2 separate regions of the Homo sapiens genome follow, and region 2 is linked to region 1. Evidence: promoter capture Hi-C in 16 types of primary human blood cells and fetal thymus (Javierre and others, 2016). All regions are on one chromosome and are shown on one strand. The core of a region is centred on a gene start or on the middle of the fragment in contact, and the rest is flanking DNA. Distances in the headings are between cores, read along the strand shown. Region 1 holds the start of BGN (biglycan). Region 2 has its middle 16 kb from the start of PNMA5.

What was found. The method cuts DNA at HindIII sites, captures the fragments that hold promoters and counts their contacts. A CHiCAGO score of 5 or more calls a contact.
Region 2: a contact is called between a fragment that was not itself captured here and the fragment with the promoter of BGN in region 1, in 13 of 17 cell types (M1 macrophages, M0 macrophages, total B cells and 10 more). The highest score is 15.3, in M1 macrophages.

The regions. Positions count from the first base shown.
Region 1 is chrX:153,491,067-153,498,998 of GRCh38, forward strand. BGN (biglycan) reads left to right here and starts at 3,914. Exons shown (of 8, transcript NM_001711.6): 1 at 3,914-4,047. It also overlaps a transcript of HAUS7 not described here. RefSeq lists an enhancer at 284-856. The HindIII fragment of the contact is 11,109 bases long and covers 2,576-7,932 here.
Region 2 is chrX:152,974,504-152,982,435 of GRCh38, forward strand. No RefSeq gene overlaps it. Among named protein-coding and RNA genes, the nearest start is that of PNMA5, 16 kb to the right of the region's middle. The HindIII fragment of the contact is 177 bases long and covers 3,012-3,188 here.

The sequences.
Region 1 (7,932 bases), core at 2,664-5,163:
AGAAGGGTTCGAGAAGCAGCCACCCACAGAGAAGAGGGCCCACTGGACACACTTGGGGAGCAGGGCAGAGGGAGCCCGGGGCCCAGTTCTTGTTTCCAGACCCTGGAGAATCATGGAACAAGCAGCCCACCTCTGTAGGGGACCCCTGCATAAGAGGCCACCTCCCAGGCTCCTAGGCTCTGCCCTCTAGGACTCACACCACCCGCCAGTATTTCATGCCCAAATGGGACCAGAGAGCTCACAGCCTGCCCTCTGGGCGCCCCCACCCTGCTTCTCTCCTGGGCCTCCCTGCTGTAGCTTTGAAGACAGGGCACAAACAGCTGCAAGCCAGCTGTGGGGGACAGGCTGCAGCTGACTCCAGGTCCTCTTCCCCACACTGGCCAAGGAGATGGCAGCTGGCTTAGATCCCTGCGCCCTGCCTCCCCTCCTCCCAGCCCCCTTCTTCCGTGGCCCTCTCCCTCCCTCAGACATGTCCTTGTCCCATCCTTCCGTCCCATGGCTGCCGCCCCACCTGCTACCTTCCAGCAGCCGTCCTGGGCGCTGTCCCAGGCAGGCTGGGGTGGCAGCTGCCTGATGAGGCCTAGACCAGAGTTAGGCTCAGAGCAGGGAGACCACAGTGTGGCCTGGGGCCCTGTGCAGGGGCAACTGCCAGGGCAGGACAGCTTTCCCTGCAGGGAAGCCTGAGCAGGCTGCCCAGGGCTGCCCTCCCCACGCAGCTGAGGGGGTTGGGCTCCTTGTCAGGTGGAGAGAGCTGAGCTCTCGGCTCCATCCGGCAGGAGAAGGGGTCTCCCGGGCTGGGATGCAAGGCAAGGCTGGTGCCAGCAGGACCTTCTGGCCCTCTACAGCCTTTTGGGGGAAGCATCCCAGCTAGGGCCTAGGGGGCCTGTGCAGTGGCATCCCAGGGTCACATACAGGCCGTGCTGGAAGGGGCCGGGTTCTGCTTCCCCCACCTCCTGCTCCCTGTCTGCCGCGGGTTCCTGGGGAGCTAAGACAGCTGTGTGTCCGCCTCCTCCCCAGGATCCCTGAGGGCCTCAGGAAATGCCTGCTCTTCCTTCCTGCCTTGCGCCCCCCGTGCCTGCCTTCCCCCTGCTTCCCCCTGCCTCCTCCCAGCCCTGAGAGGCCAGAAGGGCAGAAGGCTGCCCGCCCGCCAGCTCTGCTCGCTAGCAAGGAAGCACTGTTCCTAGAGCACTTCAGCTGGGATCAAAGTACCTTCTGCGCTGCAGAGAGAGCCCAGGCCTGAGGAGGGGGGAGTGGGAGGGGGAGCAGAAGGGGGAGGCCCTAGGACTGAGGTACTGCCTGTCTGGTCTGGGAGTGGCCCCCAAATTAGAGGGCCAGGCCGAGTGACTCAGTGGGCCCTAGCCAGGCCGAGTGACTCGGTGGGCCCCGGGCCGGGCGTGCAGTTATGGCTTATTGCAGACTGCAAACCACAGATACAAAAACCTTCCAGGTACAAGGACCGTATTTATATGAGTATTGCCCCCAGAAGCAGCCCCCAACTTCAGGTAAGAGCTGCAAGGTGCATGCATAATGTGTCTCCCCCAAGCAGGGTGTCGCCTCATCGCCACTTCCAAGCCCCCATCCAGGAACATGCCTGGCTGAGACCTGAGGGTGAGGTCGGTGCAGGGCCGGACTGCAGCGCCGCCTGGCTCCCCTGTGTCTCCCCACACCCCCCCGCACGTGTGCTCTTCCTTCCACCGGCAACTTCCCTCTTCCCTACTGGTCTGCTCCAGGTCACCTCCTCCAGGTAGCCCTCCCGAGCCTCTGGCACTGTGCATGGCCCTGCGCCCCCACGGTATTCAGAGCTGTTTCACCCCCACTGGGACTCCTGGAGGCTGAGGCCCTGAGTGACAGCTCCTGGGTTCTCAGTCCCCAAGCAGTGCAGGAAGGTACTGGGTACCAGCACCTCGGGCAGCAGGCATGCCTTGAGTGGGTTTCTCCTTTTTTCTGAAACGGCTTTACTGAGAGTGGCTGTGCTTACCACACGATTTGCGCATTGAGCACGTACAAGGCAAGGGCTTTTATATGGTCTATTCACAGAACTGTGCAACCATCACTCAGTCGATTGTAGAACATTTTCATCACCTCAAAAAGAAAACCCATACCTTTAGGTACCACCCCTCTAGCACCCACTGCCCACAAATCCGCTTTCTGTCCCCACAGATGAGCCTAGTGTGGACATTTCAAATGAATGGAACCAGAGGCTCTGCGGCCTTTTGCGACTGGCTGCTGTCACTGAGCGGAATGTTTCCAAATGCTTCTCTCTCCACCCAGACTGCTAGTCAGGCTTCGCTGCCTGTCCCGCTCTCTACCGACATATTTCTCCACGAATGAGTTGGCAGTGGGGGAGGGAAAGAGGGTGGGACAGAGATGAGACCAGGCTGCCAAGAGTCGGACGCTGAGGCTGGGCAAAAGGTAAAACACACAAACCTGCCGAAAGACAAGCCATCTCCTTTGTCTGGAAAGGGCATATGTGGTCTCCAATCTCCTCATTCCAACCATGAAATCAAGAGAGAACCAGGGTTACCAGCCTGGCCCCTGGTTTCCCACGTCTCTCTTCTCCCTGGCCCAGTCTAGAAGCTTCTTGCAGGCAGGTACCACAGTTTGGTCAAGGTGCCATGCGTCCCAGGTCCTAGCCAGGCCCTGGGCTGCCGCTGGTGAACAGGAAGGGGGTCTGTGCCCTGCCATGCCCCCAGGTAGAGCTCCCCTGGGAGCATCCTCCCTGGCCTGGGACCTCCCAGACCCCACCCCCCGGTTGAGTGATGGCACTGCCAGGGGTTGAAGACCCTCAGCCCTCGACGTTGTCCTCTCTCCATTGGATGCCGCCTCTCTCTAGCCACCCCTCTCTCCCTCTCTGCCCCTTCGAGCTTTTTCTCTCAATATGCAATTTTCTCTTTTGGTCTTCCGCACTCTTGGCCCCCAGTTCTATTGCAGATCTGTTTCTCACTCCATCTAAACTCTTACCCCTGTGTCTCAGGAGCTGCTCTTGCTGAGGGAAGAAGGGGACACTACGGGACAGGGGGGCAGTGTCGTACTAAGGACCTGGGCTCTAGCCACTGGAGGAACTGGACTCATTTGGGCCCTCAGGAAGCGGCTGAGTCTTGGTGGGGTAACCCGGTTAGCCCCCGTAAGTGACCAGCACAGGGCTGAGCCCAGAGGAAGTGGCCACCCACAGAGTGGTTCTCATGTCCGAGGGGACCTGCAGGGATTGAGCAAGAAGACTGACTCGCTGGATCCTTCGTCTCTGAATCAGTTCAGGGCAGGCAAGCTGGGGAGCCCCCTGCCCCGTCCTGCCACCACCAGCCGGATCGGGCCCTCTTTTTAAGGGAAGAAAGTCTGGAGTGGAAGGGAGGGCACAGGGCGCCAGGAGCCTACATGAAGTCCTTCCAGAAATCCACAACAGCTACCTCTCTGATCCTGGAGAAACCACCTCCTTGCTTAGGCCCAAGCAGGTTCCTGGCAGGCTCAGGACCAAATTCCAGGGGCCACTCATGGGCCTAGCAGCCCAAGGCCGCCTCCCCCTCGTCTTTCTTCCATCTCTCTTTCCTCTGCCTGGCGAGATGCCAGCCAGCACCTCAGTGTCCCCATCTGGGCAGTGGAAAGTTTGACTCTCTGGGTCCTTGTTTGAGTGAGTGCGAGTGTGTCCGTTCCTTTGCTGTCTGCCCCAGGCGGGGGAGGGGGGGGGAGGTGGTGGGGGCGAGGGGGCGGGGGCTCAGCTAGTCCAGCCGTCTACAAGAAAATTGCTCCCTTTGAAGCTGCCAGGGGGGCCGGGAAGCCTGCCCCCTCCTGCTCGCCCGCCCTCTCCGCCCCACCAGCCCCCTCCCTCCTTTCCTCCCTCCCCGCCCTCTCCCCGCTGTCCCCTCCCCGTCGGCCCGCCTGCCCAGCCTTTAGCCTCCCGCCCGCCGCCTCTGTCTCCCTCTCTCCACAAACTGCCCAGGAGTGAGTAGCTGCTTTCGGTCCGCCGGACACACCGGACAGATAGACGTGCGGACGGCCCACCACCCCAGCCCGCCAACTAGTCAGCCTGCGCCTGGCGCCTCCCCTCTCCAGGTAGGGCTGGCTTCAAGCTGCCTCCTCAGCAACCCAGAGATGCCCCTGGCTCTGCTGCCTCCGCTGTCCCAAGCCCTGGTCCTGCTGTCCCCAGTGCCGCGAGGGTGTCCACAGATTTCCCCGGTGCTCTCTGTAGGCTGCTGATCCACGCCCCTTCATCGCCACCCTGCGGCCCCCTTGGTCCCTGTCAGGCTTCTGCCTCGTCTCGCCGCCCTCCAGGCACCTTTCCCTCACCCCTTCCTCTCCCTCTCCCTTCTGACCTTGCTCTGCTTCATCCACCTCTTGTCTCTCTGCCTCCCGCTCGGGGTCCGTCTTCTTGGCTACCACCCTAGAGCGTGGCTGGGTGACTGGTACCCCAGCTTTGCCAATGGCCCTGTTTCATCATTGCAAGTCCCAGGCGCATGCTCCACTCCCTCAGCCTCGCTCTGCCCAGGCGCCTCCTTGCTCCAGGGCTTGGCGCCTGGCCCGGGTTGGGTCGGATCGGGGAGGACCGCCCAGCGCCCACCGAGCTCAGCACCCAGGAGCAGTCCTCCGCTGCACTGCCTGAGGCCAGTCCTTGGCATGGGCTGAAAGACTTAGTTTCCCAGGCACACCCCAGGCACCCTGCCCAGATGTTCCTCGCTCGCTCACCCCCAGGTTAATGCTCTGCCTCTACATCCTCTGTGAGAAGTCTGGGTCCTGGGAGCCCTGGCTGCAAGGGCCCTGACTGGGGGTGCCTGGGTGGCTCAGCCCTGTCTGTTTCCAGGACCCCCTTGGACTGGGACTCAGAATGGGTGTGGAGGGGAAGGAGAGAAAATCAGGCAACTGTGCCATGCTCCCCAGGGCGGACCTGGCTTGGGGTCCCAGAGGGGCCTGCCAAGGGACCCAGGAGAGGGAGCGAGAGAGTGCCCTGGAAGGCCCACGGAGGGGAGCGCCCCCTCACTGCTCCATGGGCGGGGCTGGGTGCCTGAGCGCCTGCTGAGCAGAGCAGGGGGCCCAGGGATCTGCAGGGCACAGGGTACATCAGTCTCCAGTGGTCTGTCTTGGTGGGCAGGCCTCTCTCCTGCTGTCCTGGCTGCCAGACTGCTCAGGTCCCATCCTCAGGGGGTCCTGTTTCTGGGCCCTCGCCCCTCCCTGGCCTGCCAGCTCTCTGCCCTATAGCAACTAATTGGAACTGAGACAAGCTGGAGATGCTCAGCCCCCCTGCCCCCGTGCCAGAAAGGCTCCCGGGGACCAGCGCCCAGGGGTGCGGGTGAGCACCTCCTGGTGACACCCAGCCGCCGGTGCCAGCCGCACCCCAGGAGAGCTGGTGTATGAGCATGGATGTCTTGGTGCGGAGCATGCCCATGTATGGCCACTGTGGGCCAGCATGGTGAGCCTTTGAGGGCAAGCCCGTGTGGGTATATTGAAAGGAAGATGCAGGGCTGCCTCCAAGCCACCAGGGCTGGGCGGTGGGAGCAGGTTGCGAGCCAGGGAGCAGAGAGGGCTCCCATGGCAAGCTGGCCAGCTGTGGGTGGCAGCCCTGGCCTCCCTGGCCCACCTTCAAGCCCCAAGGACCCGTACGGCAGTGGGCATTAACCCTACCAACGCATAGATGGGGAGTCTGGGAAAGGAAGGGGGGTGTTTCCAAGGCAAGAATGAGTTTCCTGTCTTTAGCAACATTCCAGAGTCACTCAAACAAAGCTATAGCGTGTCCCTTCCAGTGACAGCGCCAAGTCCCCAGAGGAGGGGTTTGTAATGAGTTCACACTTGACAGTTAGCACTCAGAGCCTTCAGCAAGGGCTTCTGAGTCCTTGCCACCCCGTATAGAGGTGGGATGAGGACCTCCCCACCTGCCGTCTCCTGTGCTTCCCGGGCCCACCCCCCACCCCCCACCCCCCAGCATCTCCAGCCTGCCCGGGAGTCACATGTCCTCGGCCCACAGAATCCCCAGCACACGCCCCACCCACAGGCCTAGCCCCAGCCCTGGGGTCCCTGGCACCCCACCTGCCAGGGCCCCTCCCCTGCCTTGCTCACCCCCCAACACCCCTGCTTGTCGGAAATGTCTTCCCATGCCCACCACGACCCCCTCCCACTCATCTGTGGGCCGGAGAGCTTGGTCCCTGCCGCACGTTGCCCCCCTAGCATCCAGGCCCACCACCGAGCCCCCGACAGGCCTGGGAGCCCCACTGGTGGGTGGGGACCCACCAGCTGGGGGTCTTGCTCACACCGAGGGGCTGGGGGTGGCGGTGGCTTTCCCAGGGCACCCTGCCTTGGGCTGCAGGCCGCTGGGTGGGCACCGGCTCCCTCGGAAGGCAGCGCAACCCGGGATCCTGCCGGCCCTGGCCCCCACCCTGCCGACCGGGCCTGGGGCGATCAGTGCCCCAGCTCCTGTCCTCTTCTGCTCAGATGCTGGGTTGGGAGATCAGGGGCCACAGCTCGGCCACTCAGAGCCCTTTCCGCAAGTCTTAGAGGGACCAGCTGTGGGGTGTGTGCAGAGGGGCTGCGCTGTGGGGAGGGCGCATGGCTCAGTCCTCCTGGCCTGAGGCCCGCCTAGCCTAAGTGGCCTCCAGGACCCATGGCCAGGCCCTTCTGCAGCCTTCCAGAAAGAACCAGCTTCCCAGGGTTCCCTGGGGAAGGCCTGGGGCCACCTCCTCTGGAGGGGTGGGGCCTGTGCTTCATTCCTCCTTCCCCAGGTCCCCTTCCAGGCCAGAAGATCCCCTCCACCACTTGAATCCCACAGCCAGAAGCCCCTTCTGGGACTCTAGACTCCTGGGAACCATCCCAGCTGCCCCCTTCGCTGTTTCGCTGTTTGCCTTCTTCCCCTGCCCCGTCATGGCTCTAGGTCAGAGCAGCCTCTGGGGTGGCTATGGAGGGGCCACCAGCCTTGGCTCTTCCGAGGACTGCAGAACCCTCCCACTCCCAGCTTCCCACCTGCGCAGCTCTGATCCCAGCCAGCCCAAGGGGCAGGGTCAGGTCCCGGCTCCCTGGCAGGCCTGGTGAAGGTGCTGCCCATTCCCATGAGGCTCATCTCTGAGGCTTAGGGGCCTGGGGCTCTAGCCAGCCTTCTTGCATGGAACTCTCCTGGTCCACTGCATCTTAAGCCTGAGCTCCACTTAAACACTGGCCTGAGATAAGCTGGAGGACCAGGGGCCCAACGGACTCTGTGGGCCTCTTGAACTTGCCTCTGCTGGCCATCCCAGTCCTGTTTGGTCCCTGAGGTGTTCAGATGGGCCAAGGGGAGCATGGCGGGCAGACTCCTGGGTGGCCAGAAGATTAGAAGGCAGCCCTGTCCCTGGAGGCAGGGGAAGTCTGGGAAGCCAGTGTGACTTCTATCCTCTGGAAGTCTGAGTCCCTGCTTGGCCTTGACTGCCATCCCATGGTTCTTGGAGGCTGCCCTCATGCAAAGAGACACACACCCATGGGAGCCCAGCAGTCCCAGGAGCCTGAAGCTAAGCAGGCTGTGGGCCACCCTGGCTGGCTGAAGGAGGCTAATCCCAGCCCAGCCTGAGCCCCCGGCAGAGAGCGGGTTGCGGCAGGGAGGGGCTGCAGGAAACCTTCCCCTCCCCTCCTGGCCTTGGTGGGCCTGTACCAGGGAGGGAGGGAGGCAGGGCCCCAGGCTCTGGGGGGCAGGCCGGGAACACCTTCCCTGGGGCCCTGAAGTGCTCGCCTGGGGAGACGATGGCTTTTCCAGGAGACTCCCTGCAGACAGAGGCAGAGGTGAGAGGCTGGGCGGGGGCTGCCCTGCTGGCTGTGTTGGGGCTGAGGAGGGGCTTCTGGATCTGTGGGCCATAGGGAGCTACTGATGGTCCTCAGAAGGGCCATGCTTCCAGGGGAGCCCCCTGCACAGCCCCGAGAGTGTGAAGCGTGTCAGCTTTGGGGCCTGTGGCACTGTGTGCATTGGGAGAGGGTGGGTCCAGACATGGG
Region 2 (7,932 bases), core at 1,850-4,349, 520 kb before region 1:
GCTCCTTGCTTAGGATTGTGTTTGGCCTGTGGATTTTCCTCCCCAGAATGTATTCCTCTTGTGAAACTTCTCTGTACAGTATCCTCTGCCTGTGAAGGTCCCAAACCTGCTTCTGAATGCCTTCTTCCCACTGTCCTCTGCCTCCTAATGCCTTCTGCTCCTGGCTCCTTGCACAGTGCCTTCTACCTGCAGATGCCTTCTGCTCTCTGATCTCTGCTGCTGAGTTTGTTCATCACCTAGGGCCCAGCCAATGAGGCCTATCTGCACAAGGGCTTCTGCCTGTAATTGCCCTTGCCATAGTGTGCTTTGCTTAGTTAGTCTTACTTAAGGTCTGTTGATTTTCTTGTTTGTAAAGAACCACATCATTGACTTTTTTAAAAAAAAATCATTTTATTGATTTTTTTCTATTATTTTCTGCTCTCTGTTTCATTAATGTCACCTTTAATCTTTGTCATTTCTTCCCTTCTACTTGCTTTGGATTTACTTTGCTCTTCTTTTTCTAGTTCCTTTAAGTTGTAAAGTTAGGTTATTGATTGGAGATCCTTCTTTCTTTTTTTTTTTTTTTTTTTTTTTTGAGACAGGGTGTTACCCTGTTCCCAGGCTGGTGTGCAGTGGCACAGTCATGGCTCACTGTAGCCTTGACCTCCTGGGCACAGGCAATCCTGCCACTTAAACCTCCTGAGTAGCTGGGACTACAGGCACGTGCCACCATGCCTGGCTAATTTTTTCCTTTGAATTTTTTTGTAGAGGTGGGGTTTGGCCATGTTGCCCAGGCTGGTCTAGAACTCCTGGGCTCAATGAGTCTTCCCACCTTGACCTCCCAAAGTGCTAGGATTACAAGTGTGAGCCACCATGCCCGGCCAATATCTTTCTTCTTGAATGTATGCATGTACAGCTGGAAATTGTTCTGTGAGCACTTCTCTAGCTGCATGTTGTGTTTTCCTTTTCATTCATCTCAAAGGTTTTCTAATTCCCCTTATCACTTCTTATTTGATCCACTGGTTATTTTGGAGTTTGTTGTTTAATGTGGGTTCCCCAAATTTCCTTCAGTTATCAGTTTCTAATTTCATTCCATTATGGTAGGTTAACACACTTTGCATAACTTCAACATTTTAAAATTTGTGCAGGCTTGTTTTATAGCCCTGTGCTTTGCTGTGAATGTGTTCTTCATGGGGTTCTCCCTGCACAGCTGCGGTCACTGCCTGTGACCACTGTCCACTCTGCCCTCTGCCTTCACAGCCTCTCTGAATAATGCACCCTGCTTGAGAACTGCCTCTCCCTCTCTCTGAAAGTCTGCTGCACATTGCTCTTCATTTCTGAGGCCCACTGTACACTGTGCTCCGCATTGTGCTAGCTGTCCAGTTGTGAGCTTGCTGCAACGTGGCATGCATAATGCTTGGCTGCCAGATCACCTCCTTATCATGTCCTCTGCCTGTAGTGCCCTTGGCAGATCCCCCTGCTTCAGTATCTCCTCCCACAAATGTCTTCTGCCCATCGATGCCTTCTTTTGATCAGCACCTTGATGTTCCAGTTGGTCACTTAATCACTCAACAAGCATTGATTGGATGTCTACCCATGTGCCAGACGTGGGGGCCCCAGTAAAGTAGACACAGTTTGTATTTCTGTGGAGCTCACAGTGTAAGAGGAGAGGAGTAAATCAAACATCCCACAACAAAATACTGTTGTGATAAGTGCTCTGAACAAAACATACAGGGTATGTTTTGGAGACAGGGTCAAGGCCCTCACTGCAGCCTTGACCTATATGCTATAATATAGTGACCTACTCTGGGCTGCTTGGTTATCGGGGGAACCCGCCCCCAATATTTCAACGTAAGTTCTTTCTGTTTTCCATAAATGTCAGCCAGCTGAGAAATAGAAAGAGTACAAAGAGAGGAATTTTATAGCTGGGCCTCCGGGGGTGACATCACATATTGGTAGGACTGTGATGCCCACCTGAGCCACAAAACTAGTAAGTTTTTACTAAGGATTTCAAAAGGGGAGGGGGTGTACAAATGGGGAGTAGGTCACATGCTTTAAGGGGCAAAAAGCAGAACAAAGATCACATGCTTCTGAGGAAACAGAGCAAGGACAAAATCAGAACTCCTGATAGGGGTCTATGTTCAGCTGTGCATGTATTGTCTTGATAAACATCTTAACAGAAAACAGGGTTCAAGAGCAGAGAACCAGTCTGACCTCAAATTTACCAGGGCTGGGGGTTTCCCAATCCTAGTAAGCCTGAGGGTACTGCAGGAGACCAGGGCGTATTTCTATCCTTATCTCAACCTCATAAGACAGACACTCCCAGAGCGGCCGTTTATAGACCTCCCCCCCCAGGAATGCATTCCTTTCCCAGGGTCTTAATTATTAATATTCCTTGCTAGGAAGAGAATTTAGTGATATCTTCCCTACTTGCACACGTCTGTTTATAGGCTCTCTGCAAGAAGAAAAATATGGCTCTATTCTGCCCGACCCCACAGGCAGTCAGACCTTATGGTTGTCTTCCCTTGTTCCCTAAAAATCGCTGTTACTCTGTTCTTTTTCAAGGTGCACTGATTTCATATTGTTCAAACACACATGTTTTACAATCAGTTTGTACAGTTAACACAATAGTGGTTCTGAGTGGACCTGATGTATATTCTCAGCTTACGAAGATAACAGGATTAAGAGATTAAAGTAAAGACCGGCATAAGAAATTATAAAAGCATTAATTTTGGGAGCTGATAAATGTCCATACTAAAATGAAATCTTCACAATTTATGTTCCTCTGCTGTGGCTCCAGCCAGTCCCTCCGTTCAGGGTCTCTGACTTCCCGCAACATCTCTCCCTTTCTTTTTGAACATAACAGGATTAAGAGATTAAAGACAGGCATAAGAAATTATGAAAGTACTAATTTTGGGAACTGATAAATGTCCATGTTAAAATGAAATCTTCACAATTTGTGTTCCTCTGCCACGGCTCCAGCTGGTCTCTCCGTTCGGGGTCCCTGACTTCCCACAACACTTAGTCAGGGAAGCTTTTTTACATTTTTGTTTTTAGAGACAGATTTTTACTCTGTCACCCAGGCTGGAGAGCAGTGGCATGGTCGTAGCTCACTGCAACCTCAAACTCCTGGGCTCAAGCAGTTATCCAGGCTCAGCCACCTGAGTTGCTGAGACTACAGATGCACATACCACCACATCTAACAGAGAAGCTTTTCACAAGGACATGATATTTGGCTTTAGTATGAGTTTGCTATACAAAAGGAGGCTATCTTCCAGGCCCTCTTTAATGTTCCCCTGCACTCAGCTCCACCCCTCAAGGCTACTCACTTTCCTTGTACAGTGCATCAAGCCTTCTGTGGGGCACTGGGGATACATCAATGAGCAAGACAGACAATCTGTGAATTTGTGGAGTGACCATCTCATGGGGAGAAAGACAAAGCAACAATCCTATTTCAGTCGCAATAGCTAAAGGAGCACAGAGGTGTGTCACCTGGATTTCTGGGGCTAAGGATGGTATTCTGGGGGAGGTGACCTCTGAACTGAAACCTGAAGGATGAGAAAGAATCATTCATTCATTCATCCATTTAATAATTTAAATATTTCCTGAGCACCCACTGTGGGCCACACACTATAGTAGGCACTGAGGACACACCAGTGACAAATCAAAGACCCTGTCCTTCTGGTCAATGATAGGAAGCAGGTGCTAAATAAACATGAAAGTCTTTACTCTTTTTTCATTTTCTTTTGAACCCACTTCTTTGAGGCTCTCACCTCCACCATGGTACTAAAAATGCTAGTGCTAAGGTCCCCAATGACCACCACATTGCTAGACCCCATGCACACTTCTCAGGCCTCATTGACTGAGCAGCAGCGTTTGGTCCAGTGGACATGTATTAGTTTGTTTTCACACTGCTATAAAGAAATACCTGAGACTGGGTAATTTATAAAGGAAAGAGGTTTAATCGACTCACAGTTCCACATGGCTGGGAGGCCTCAGGAAACTTACAATCATGGCAGAAGGTGATGGGGATGCAGGCACCTTCTTCACAAGGCTGCAGGAGAGAGAAGTACAAGCAGGGGAAATGCCAACGCTTATAAAGCCATCACATCTCTGAGAAGTCACTATCACGAGAACAGCATGGGGGGAACTGCCCCCATTATCCAGTCACCTCCCTCTCTCAACATGTGGGAATTATGGCTCCCTCCCTTGACGTGTGGGGATTACAATTCGTGATTAGATTTGGATGGGGACACAGAGCCAAACCATATCAGGTCCATTCCCTTTGCTAGGCCTCTAGGCCCATTCTGCCTTTCCTTCCACCTCACTGGTCACTCCTTTTCTATCTCCATTGCTGGTTCTTTCTCATCATCCCATTCTCTCAACTTTGGAGTACTCTAGGACTTTGTTCTTAGACCCCTTCGCTTTTCTATCTGCACTCACTGCGTTGTATCACTGGGGTCCAGGCTTCAACAGATACAGTATACACTGCCTCCTTCTGGAATTGCAGCTGCTCCAGCCCACATCATCTTCCTGAACTTCAGACTTGTGTTTCAACTTCCCACAGCTCATTTCCACCTGGGGAGTCTAATTGTCATTTCATACTCAACCATGGAAGCCATGCTCTATGCATTGCCATCCACAGCTCCGTAAATGGCAGTCCCATTCTTCAGCTTGCATAGACCAAAACCTACACATCACCTGCTGATCTCCCACTGCACTTCCAGCCCATCAGCCTAGCCTGTTAACTCTCCCTGCCAAACAGATCCAGAGGCAAACCATTTCTCCCCACCTTCACCATAAACATATTGTCCCCTAATCCCCCATGTGGATGATTACAATAACCTAAGCAATCATCTTTCCTTCCTTCCCACCCTGAAGTGTACCCCAGCATGGCTGCAAGAGTGAAGAGTTTCAATCCGATCACATCCCTCTTCTGCTCCATACCTTCCCCAGGCCTCATTTTACTTGGACTAAAAGCCAGAGTCCTCAAGGTGGCTGGCCAAGCAGGTGCTGCTTTATCCAGCCCCCACCACCTTTCCTTCTTACTCATACCATTCCAGGCATTCTCTGGCCTTGAGCTGTGTGCTGGTTGTCTCTTCTGCCTGGAATGCTCATCTCCCAGATGCCCACGTGGCCATCTCCCTTGCGTCCTTCACATCTCTGCTCAGATGCTACCTTCTTCCTGATCACCTTCATGGACCATCCAATTTAAAATTCTGTGCACACCCATAACACTCCTTATACCTGCTTCCTTGCTTTTTCTCTGTAGCACTTATCACAATCTAACATACTACATGTTTTCTTCTTATTTTATTGTTTGTATTTCCTTACTTAAATGAAATCTCCATGAGAGATTTTTGTCCTTTTGCTCCACTGCTGAATTCCCAGTGCCTATAATAGTGCCCTGCACATAGTAGGTGCTCAGTAAATGTTGACTAAATGAATGCATAAAATAGATGATTTCAGACAAGTTCTGTAAAATTATAAAGCAGAACGAGCTAGAGCTCTGGTCTCCACATGCTAAATATGGTCTCCACATCCCACGTTAGGCTACTTGTGTTTAAATAGAAATCAACTAAAATACATTTTTAAAATCCAGTTTCTCAGTCACACTAGCTCCATTTCAAGTGCCTAGTAACCACACATGGCTAGAGACTACCCTGTTGGGCAGCACAGGCCTAGAATATTTCCATTCCCACAAGTTTTCCAGGTAGAGGGGCCAGTAAGGGCAGAGGCCCTGAGATAAGATTAAGAGCCAGGTGTGTTTGAGGGACTAGCCAGCGGGGCTAGAGGGTGGTAAACACACAGCAGAGTGGGGGCCAGATCATGTAGGGTTTGCAGGCCATGGTTAGAAGTTTGAGTTTTAGTCTAAGTGATATGGGAAGCCATCCATGGCTTCTGAGCAAAGAAATGATGTCATTTGATTTCTGATTTTTAAAAATCACTATGAGTTATATTTGGAGAATGGACTATAGAGGAGCAAGAGGAGAGAGAGAGGAGGCTATTGCACTGCAAGTATCAGTGACGGTGGCCTGGACAATGATGGCAGTGGTAGAGATAGAAGTGGATGGAGTTTACATGTATTTGGAAGTAGAACTGCAGTACTTGCTGATAATGGAATATGAATCTATGAGGGAAAGAGAAGAAGACAAACTGAGTCTAGTTTTGGAATCAGAGCAATTGGGTAGATGGTGATGCCAGTATCTTGGGTGAGCTTATGAGCAGTTTGGCACTGATTGAATGGTGTGGCTTGGGAGCCAGAGTTTTGTGTTAGGAAAATTGGTATTGAGATGTTCTGTTGCCCAAGTGGAGATGTGGGTTAGGCACTTTGACATATAAGCCTAGAGCTTAAGAGGGAACTGGGCTTAGAAGCAGCCTGCCAATGATAATGAAAGCATGGACAGGCTGAGATCACCAAGGAAGTGAATGTAGATAGTAAAGAGAAGAGGACCCAGGGCACTGAGTCCTGCGGAGAATCAAGCAGAGAAGGAGGAATCAGAAAACTCTATCAGGAGAGGCCAGTGAAGTAGGAGGAAACCCGAAGCATGTGGTATCCCAGGAGCCAAGGGGAAAAAGTGCTTCATGAGGGAAGAATAGTCACCTGGGTCAAAATCTACTGAGATGTTGGTGTAAATAAGATGAGGACAGAGAATTGACCTTTGGATTCATCAAGATTGAGGTTGTTTGGTCACTTTGTTGAGTCCTTTCAGTAGCAGAATGGGTGAAACCAGTGTTTCAGAGAATCAAGGAGAGCATGGGAGCTGAGAAAGTGTGGGTGGTAGGCATAGACAAGTCTGAGCTTTGCCATGAAGTGGAACAGAAGAACAGAGTGAGAGGTAGAGGGATGTGCTAGTTAATTGTATGTGTCAACTTGACTGGGATAAGGGATGCTCAGATAGCTGGTAAAAACATTATTTCTGGGTGTGTCTGTGAGGGTGTTTCCAGGAGAGATAGCATTTCTATCAGTACAATGAATAAAGATCACCCTCACCAGTGTAGGAAGGCATCATCCAGTTGTTTGAGGGGCCAAATAGAACAAAAAGATGGAGGGAGAGCAAATTCTTTCTCTCGCTCTCTCTCTCTCTCTCGCTCGCTCATTCTCTCTTTCTCTCTCTTCTTGAGCTGAAACATCTATCTTCTCCTGTCCTCAGACATCAGAGCTCCTGGATCTAAGGCTTTCAGACTCCAAGGTGTACACCAATGGGCCGCGCTCCCCACTCCTTTAGCTTTGGATTAGAAGTAACACCATAAACTCCCCTGGATCTCAGGCCTTTGAACTTGGACTGAATTATTCCACCATCTTTCTCTATTCTACAGCTTGCAGATGGCATATCATAGAATTTGTTGGCCTCCATAATCATGTGTGCCAATTCCCAAAATAATATATCTATCAGCTCCTACTGGTTTTGCTTTTCTGGAGTGCTCTGATTAATGCAAATGGGAATTTGGAGGGTTTGTGTCTGTCCGTGTCATAGGTAAACAAGGAGAGCATTCCTGAGTCCTAACTAAGTCTTATGGGGAAGGGGTATTGTGTTAGTTTCCCAGGCCTGTCATAACAAAGTACTACAAAACGAAAGTCTTAAACAACAGAAATTTATTCTCTCACAGTTTTGGATGCCAGGAGTCCAAGACCAAGGTGTCAACAGGCTTGGTTCCTTCTGAGGGCTGTGAGGGAAGAATCTGTTCCAAGCCTCTCTTTTTTGCTTGTAGGTGGCCATCTTCTTCCTGTTTTACTTCACATTATCTTCCTTGTCTGTGTGTCCAAATTTCTTCTTCCTATAGGGACACCTGTCATATTGTAATGGGGCCCACCATAATGCCTTCATTTAACTTTAATTACCTTTTTAAAGACTATCTCTAAACAAGGCCACATTCTGAGGTACTGGAGTTAGGACTTCAGCATATGGATTTTGGGGGGAAATAAAATTCAGCCCACCCATAACAGTGTTT